Linked DNA regions of Homo sapiens: regions 1 and 2 are each linked to region 3. Evidence: promoter capture Hi-C in 16 types of primary human blood cells and fetal thymus (Javierre and others, 2016). All regions are on one chromosome and are shown on one strand. Each heading gives the region's core, a stretch centred on a gene start or on the middle of the fragment in contact. The rest is flanking DNA. Distances are from core to core; before and after follow the strand shown.

Region 1 (2,728 bases), core at 86-2,585, 160 kb after region 3:
AGTAGAGACATGGTTTCACTGTGTTAGCCAGGATGGTCTCGATCTCCTGACCTCGTGATCTGCCTGACTCAGCCTCCCAAAGTCCTGGGATTACAGGCATGAGCCACTGCACTCGCTGGAGCCTCTTTTTGAGGGCACTAATCCCATTCATGAGGGTGCTGCCCTCATGACCTAGCCACCTCTCAACAGTCCCACCTCCTAAGACCATCACATTGGGGGTGAGATTTCAACATATAAATTTTAGGGAGATAAAAGCATTCAGACCATAGCAAAAGTTATTCCTGAGTAGAATGATTTAGGGTGATTCTTAGAATTTTATTCTAGTCTTATTTGAGGGGTTTTTAGTTGGAGTTTTAATATTTTTCACCCACATATTTTGATGAGCTAAATCACTAATGAACTTAAGTTTAAAACTATGCTAAACTGAGGTAGAATTCTAGAATCATAAACATACAGTGTTTTCCAGTATTATCACCACGTAAGTCAATCCTGTATGTTTACTTGTGCAATTGATAAGCTTAGGTAAGAAGTTGATTCCACTTAGGTAAGAAGTTTAAATTAAATCTGAGGCAAATTAATTATGCATTGTATTTTTGTAACAGCTCTCCCCCCATTTCATTGGTAAGTATTTCAGTATGAATCTCTAAAATATAACATAGTGACAATGCCATTATCACACCTTTGTCTCTTCAAAAAGTCAAGGTCACGAGGGGAGAAAAGGGTAGGAGGACTTTTTTGAATTAATAAAAGTAAAGGCATTTAATCGTTATCATTATTTTAGAGTATACTACTACTTGTTTTTTAAAAATATTAACTGTAAGACAGCCTCAGGCGGGTCCTTCAGGAGGTATTCCAGAAAAAAGCATTGTTATCATAGAAGATGACAGCACTTTTTCAAATGCAATGAAATTGATTGGATCCAAATTCAGGGGAAAATAGCTATAAAAATTTGGAGAAATTTTAATATAGATGGGCCAGAAGATGATATAAGATAATTATTCTTGAGTATAATAATGGTATTTTGGTTAGGAGATGAATGCTGACTCGGTAGGAGGTAGCATATCATGATGTGCAAGTTACTTTCAAAATATATATAGGTAGATAGGCATATACATAAGGCAAGGATGGCAAAATGTTAACAACTGGTGAATCTTGGTGGGGGGCGTGTAGTATTGTATCCTTTCAACATCTGTGGTGTTGAAAATACTGTATAATTAAAAGTTGGGGAAAAAAACTCTAGACAGATTCATTTGTAACAAAAATAAATGGAAACAAAACAAATTAAAATAAAGGATATCCGGTGCTATAAATTGAATATTTGTATCCTCCCAACTCCACCTGTTAAAGCCCTAACCCCCAGTGTTTATGGTGTTTGGGGATGGAGCTTTGGATGATAATTAGGATTAGATGGTCATGAGGGTGGGGCTTCATGGTGGGTTCAGTGCCTTTATAAGAAGAGACACTGAAGAGCTTTCCTCTCTCTGTTTCTCTCCACACACATGTGCTTAGGAAAGGCTATGTGAACACACAGTGAGAAGGTAGCTGTCTGCAAGCCAGCAAGAGAAGTCTCACCAGAACCCAGCCATGCTGGCACCCTCATCTCAGACTTCCAGCCTTCAGAACTGTGAGAAAGTAAGTTTCTTTTGTTTACATCACCCAGTCTATGGTATTTTGTTATGGCAGCCCAAGCTGATTCATACAGATTTTGGTACCAAGAAACAGGGTGCTGTGTAACAAATACCTAAATATGTGGAAGCAGCTTGAAACTGCATAATGAGAGACTGGGAGAGCTTTGAGATGCATACTAGAAATATGACCATTAAGGGCAATTCTGGGGAGGTCTCAGACAGAAATGAAGAACAAGTCATTGGAAGAATATATTAATTGGAGGAAAGGTGATCTTTGATATAAAGTAGCAAAGAATTTAGCTGGACTGTGTTCTAGTATTTTGTGGAAGGTAGAACTTGTGAGGCTGAATTGGATATTTTACTAAGCAAAGTGTCCGAGGAGTAGCTTGGTTCCTCCTGAGTGCTTATAGCAAAATGTGAAATGAAAGAGATGAATTGAAGAAGGAATTAAGCAAAAGGGAACCAGAGCTTGAAGATTTGAGAAAATTATCAGCCTATCCATATTGCAAAAAATGAGAAAGCTTGTCCTGAAAAGAATACTAAGGGTGTGGATGAACATCCATTTGATAAAAAGATCATGAGTGCAGTTCGTGAACACAATCAGCCATTTCAACAGAAAGCAGGCATAGAGATGGGATTATACCAGCAGAGACACCATCTGTTTGAACTAAAGGGGACAAAGAAAGAGAGGGCCCGGTGCAGTGGCTCACACCTGTATCCTAGCACTTTGAGAGGCTGAGGCAGGTGGATCACTTGAGCTCAGGAGTTTGAGACCAGTGTGGGCAACATGGTGAAACCCTGTCTCTACAAAAAATACCAAAAAAAAATTGCCAGGCATGGTGGCATGCACCTGTAGTCCCAGCTACTTGGGGGAGCTGAGGCAGGAGGATTGCTTGTGCCTAGGAAGTTGAGGCTGCAGTGAGCCATGATCATGCCACTTCACTGCAGCCTGGGCAACGGAGCCAGATCTTGTCAAGGAAAGGGGAGGGGAGGGGAGGGGAAGGCAGTGGGAGGTATGACTGACTTCTTGGATTTTACAGGACAGGACCATAGAGCTATTCAGCTGTGAAAGTGAGCTACTCTTCAGGAAAAGGACAAAA
Region 2 (2,700 bases), core at 177-2,676, 200 kb before region 3:
TTATTTATCCATTCATTAGTCAATGGGACATTTGGGTTATTTCCATGAACGTTGGTATTTGCTGCAAGTGTATTCCTTGCTCTGGTAGCATGTCTTTTTAGCCTTTGCAACATATGCAGGGCTCAGAAATGTCTACGGGTAGAGGAGAAGAAGGAGGGGGGAATTAAGACAAAAAGTAACAAAGTACTAAAGGAGAGAAGAGAGAGTGGGATTCCAGATGCATCTGCCAGAGAAGGAGCGATCAGTAATAACCATGACTCCCAGAAACTCCTGCCTCTGAGTCACCAGCCTGGTCAGCATCACTTAGGGTTACTGTGCCAGTACTGCAGCATGTACAACTAGCTACACCTACTTGTCTCCTCCTCCTAATTGCCATCCAGTAAAACTACATGAGGCTCTGGAAGTGCCTGACACAGGATTTCCTCTGTGAGGTTATATGCAAAACAATAATCACGCAGCCAGGCACACAATAAACCTGGCAGGGCAGGCTTCTCTGTGTTCTTGCGGTTATGCTTCTTGCTTTGTGTGAGCTATTAAGTACACTTGCAAGAGTGGAGGAATTAAGAATGAGAATAATTGTGTATGCTGTGCTTTCAGCCTGCGACTGTAACCCCCTTGGGAGTCTGCCATTCTTGACCTGTGATGTGGATACAGGCCAATGCTTGTGCCTGTCATATGTCACCGGAGCACACTGCGAAGAATGCACTGTATGTATTTGCCTATAGTTTCCCTTTTCTATAGTGATACAGATTTCTATTGCCATTGCCTAGGTAAGACTTGGTTTTGCTAATCTCTTTCTTGTCCTATTGTGTTTTAATACTCCAGTGGTATGAGTATTTACACTACAGAAATCAGCAAACACTACCTATCAGCCTCCCCTCACCCCTGCATTGAGCTGCCTGTTAAACATTTACCAGCTCACCACTGGACTGGACTAAACCGACCCAGGCACAGATATTATTAGGTTTATCCACTCTTTTCCTGAAAATGCCAAGCAGTAGAATAGAAGCACATTTATCTGTCTATGTTTTGGGCCACCAGAACTTTCTTCTATCCCTTGTACACAATCCCCTTATCATCCCTACCACTCCCTTCCTAAAAATGTTTTGGATAAGGTCTTATAAAAAAACAAGCTTAGGTTTAATGTATTTTAGATTCCTGTGGGAAATAAACTCTTGGATTTTTCACAGACTCTACTAAACATACAATTTTAGATGTATCATCTAAAATTAGTAAAATAAAACATATTCACTCCATAAGAAATGCATGATGCAATTGGGGAGTTCAAACCCAACTCTTTTCTTTGTTCTCCAATCTTGGCAGCTCACCATGACATTTTAGAGAGAAAAAAAAAAAACCCACAAAATCTTAACCTAATAAAAGAACAGTGACCTCGATGTGTCTGAAGAAATGTAGCTGATGAATAAGAAACATATGCCTATGAGGACATGGTTTTGTGCTGATATTTTAAGTCATTTTACTGAAAACAGGATGGGGCAGAGGGGGTGGGGGAAAGAAGCAAGGAAGGAAATATGAAGAAGGGATTCTGGAAGACAAGTCAAAAAATCTGAAAATTGTACCTTAAAGAGAAAGGTCAGCCACGCCAACCTCCATGACCATAAGTGTGTAACACAAAAAAAGGAGCACAGTTGGTTACAGGATCAACAAATCCTGAAATTATGTGATCGACCAAATCATGTAATTCCAGACAAAGCTTAGGCTCAGGCTGACTTTTTTCACTGGCTGGTTAACTGCTACGTGTGCAGTACAGACTCACTTTTGCTTGCAGGGCAAGCAAGCAAAATAACTGAACAGGGACCCCCCCCATGGGGGAACTGTCCATCGTGGCTGAGCCCATGCACCCACTAGGTTCTCCACATCCACATCTCTCTGATGGTGCCCTGGATCTGCCCTGAGGTGGCCAGCATGGCAGCATTCCCTGTCCTAGAGGAAGTTTTCACAACCACATCCTGTGGGAAGCAGTTCCTATCACATCATTTTTTTTTCTTAAACTGAAGTTTTGGTTTGGGGAAAAACATCAAGTCCTTTGTCGCATTGTGTCCAAAGACATCAATGTTTAATATCTAAAAGACACCTTTTTGAGTAAAATCATGCATAAAATTATACCAAGATACAAAAAATATGGATGCTTAACAAGACCATTTCCAAAGAGAATTTCATACCTACTAAAATTTAAGTTTTATCGGAGCATGTTCAATTGAGATGTGTGGGAGGAGAATTTTTTTTAGCATTTTATACTAAATATTATAACACTTAGAAAATAGTTACTTGTATCTCACCAGCTGTTTATTTTGAACAACGGTCAAGATGTTGCAATGATGGAAAAAGTCTGGAACAATAGAGTTGACTCTCTCATATGGATTCATGTTATTATGCCAAAACAACTGATTGATAAACAAATGCCTATGCTAAAGTGTGGTATTCATGTAATATCTCAAAATTAGCTTGAAGGATTTCTCTGCCTCCAAGTATTTCAGTATTGTATGGGTAAAATTCCCAGGGGTTGTTGTGGTAAGGGAACCTATCAGTTTTTTTAAAAGCAGTTACACGGCCGAGCCTGGTGGCTCATGCCTGTAATCCCAGCACTTTGGGAGGCCGAGGCAGATGGATCACGAGGTCAGGAGTTCAAGACCAGCCTGGCTAACACGGTAAAACCCCGTCTCTACTAAAAATACAAAA
Region 3 (2,700 bases), core at 131-2,630:
AAATAAATAAATAAATAAATAAATAAATAAAGCTCTGAAAGTTCTAACTTAAATACTTGAATAATCTATACATGATAATCTTTTTACCTGTAATTTTTGTTTCCTAACTCTAAGCTAGCGTGTATATACAGTCCGTATTTACTTAGAACAATCTATGAAGATGTTCCTGAGACATCAACTAGGAATAGCAAATTAGACAAGGTAACTTAGGAAAATGCACCAAGTAATGTACTTACGTTCTGGTGCTACTACAGTTTGACAAATTGCATCATAATCTCCCTAATCTCTATATGTGGACGGCTACCATTTCCTAAGGGCAATGAGGCAGAAAGCAAGCAAGCAAATAACCCCTGCTCACAGCAGGAAAATGGGCGGCAGTGACAAAACCTACACTGATGTTTCCTATTCCAAGGCAACTCTTAACATTTGAGGTCAGGACAGCAAACCCAAAAAGCAGCAGATTGACAATCCTGAGTTTCAGTCCCACCTCCGCCGCTCCCTAAAAGCATGACTTGCAGAATGTTACATTAACTTTTGAGAACTCAGGTTCCTCATCTCTGAAACAAAAGGGTTTGATCGCTATATTATTTTTAAGGTCTCCACTAACATAGTACCCAGCCACGGTGCCACATACACACAATTTGGCTGTATCTGGTAAGCAGATTAAAAAGGAGAGTTGTTCTGATAACCTGCTGCAATTAAAGATTTAAGCCTCCAGGAAGTCGTGAGAGATGGCAATGAACACCAGTTGAAAGCTGCCAACACTGACAAGACCTTAGGGGAATTCCGAGGGCTATCTGTTGGAGCTGACTGGATCTAAACCATTCAAGAAGTGACCCCAGGGTTACCTGCCCACTGCATAAACTTAGGCCACTCAGGGATCAGAATTAGGATGAGAAAAAGGCAAATGGTATAAAAAGCCAGACTATACGGGACATGGGTGGCTTACACTTCCTCCAAGGTAGAGGCCTATGTGTGACCGGGATGGCCCTCGGCCCAGGCTTGGGGGTGTGGCATGTGTGACCGCCGGCCGTCACACAACCCGAAAGGACTCGCCACAGCCTGGGCCCAGCCCCGTCCCTCGCCTGCTGCAGGATGAGCGGCCACCTCGGAGCCCAGGGCCGGGCTGAGCCAGTGCAGAGGCGGGGCCAGGGGTGGTGCGGCCCAGGCGCCCGCCTCCGCCAGCCCAACACGGTTAAGCCGCGTACCGGACCCACTGAGCGGGACCTTCCGTGCCTCTGGCTCAACACGACCTCACCTACTCGGCCCTCACCTTGGCCAAGGAGCAGTACACACGACTCCAGCTCTGCATTTTTCCGCTGTATTTTCCTTTCCGCCAATACTTTCACCTCCGCTGGGCGCCTCCGCCGCTCCGCCAAGGTCTCCCCTCCCTGCGCATGCACAGGCGCAGCCTACGTCATCACCCGGGAGCAGCGCGATTGGCCCGCGCGGTTCTACCGCACGAGGCGTTCCTGTCAGGCTCGGCGTCGTACGCTGTCGTAAGGAGCGCAGGGCTTTGTCGCAGCGGGGGTGGTGGTGGGAATGCTTTAGGGGCTGGTGCCAAAATGTCGAGCTACAATGTATTCTTATACTTAGAAGATGAAATAAACAAATAAAACTAGCGTTTGCTTAATGCACATTATCGACAGTAAAGCGTGACAAGTTCAACAAGCTCTTGGTTGTGCTAGGCATTCCTCGGCACTTCCTACAGACATCTCATTTCATCCTTGCAACAACCATATGGAGTATTATTAGTATTTCCATTTCTTGGATGAGACCCAGAGAGGTTAAACAGTGCCCCCAAGGTCTCACAAAGGAGAGATAACTGCGGCCCTGAGGCCAAAACCTTTGGTATTATCTACTGCTTTATACTCGCTCCTCTCAAATGCCATATAAGGGATGGGGCTACAGATTTTGGCATCACCAGCATTCTGCTCTAATTAGCTAACTGACAATACGTAGAGAACACACTTTCTTCTATTTCTTTAGTTGAGAAACACATCTCCCTGGTAAAAAGAGAGTGGGATGGTGGATGAGATTTTAGGTTTTGAGAGAGAATCTGTTGAAAAGGGTTGAAAAACATTGTCTTCAAGATTGAGCACGAAAGTCTAAGGTCTCATTCTTGCCTTGCAATAAGTCTATATAGTGTGAATAAACTTAATTCTACATTTATTGGAAGTCTACCACCCAGGCCTTGTGCTGGGCTAAACACTGGTTAGAAATTACTGCCTATGTTCAGATTTAGATATGAATAATTAAATTTAGTGTTTGTTATAGAGACGGTATTGCTGGCAGCTCTGTCCTGTGACAGGGTCCCAGGCTCCTTTTATCTCGTGACTCTGCCATCATCAGAGCTTGCCTTGCATCTTTCATTCAAGATGGCTGCTCCAGTTTCTACAATCATATCCCCTCATTCCATCTGATTACAAAGCCACACCTAGCTGCAAGGGGATCTGTGAAACATAGTCCTGTCAGCTGAGTGCCTAACTGAAATTGTATTAATAAGCAAGATGAGATGAAGCGAAATTGGGGGACATTGAGCAGCCTCCACCACACAGATGGGGAGAATTGTCTCCTCTCCAGCTTCATGGCAGTCTTTGACATCTGGTCTAGGAGTTACTGCTCCATATGCACAAAATCTCACAATTCTTTCCTGAACTTTCTTGGGCTTTGTTCCCTACTCCTTTGTCCAAAATTACA

Evidence for each region. The method cuts DNA at HindIII sites, captures the fragments that hold promoters and counts their contacts. A CHiCAGO score of 5 or more calls a contact.
Region 1: a contact is called between a fragment that was not itself captured here and the fragment with the promoter of DLD in region 3, in 2 of 17 cell types (non-activated CD4 T cells and naive CD8 T cells). The highest score is 5.3, in non-activated CD4 T cells.
Region 2: a contact is called between a fragment that was not itself captured here and the fragment with the promoter of DLD in region 3, in 1 of 17 cell types (M2 macrophages). The highest score is 6.2, in M2 macrophages.

What each region holds. Positions count from the first base shown.
Region 1 is chr7:107,727,339-107,730,066 of GRCh38, reverse strand. No RefSeq gene overlaps it. Among named protein-coding and RNA genes, the nearest start is that of CBLL1, 15 kb to the left of the region's middle. The HindIII fragment of the contact is 1,632 bases long and covers 520-2,151 here.
Region 2 is chr7:108,093,235-108,095,934 of GRCh38, reverse strand. LAMB4 (laminin subunit beta 4) reads left to right here. Exons shown (of 34, transcript NM_007356.3): 12 at 598-707. Among named protein-coding and RNA genes, the nearest start is that of LAMB4, 36 kb to the left of the region's middle. The HindIII fragment of the contact is 581 bases long and covers 1,136-1,716 here.
Region 3 is chr7:107,889,863-107,892,562 of GRCh38, reverse strand. It overlaps DLD (dihydrolipoamide dehydrogenase), which reads right to left and starts at 1,380. Exons shown (of 14, transcript NM_000108.5): 1 at 1,274-1,380. The coding sequence starts at 1,312. RefSeq lists a silencer at 1,040-1,149 and enhancers at 1,210-1,449, 960-1,642, 1,600-1,679. The HindIII fragment of the contact is 5,175 bases long and covers 1-2,700 here.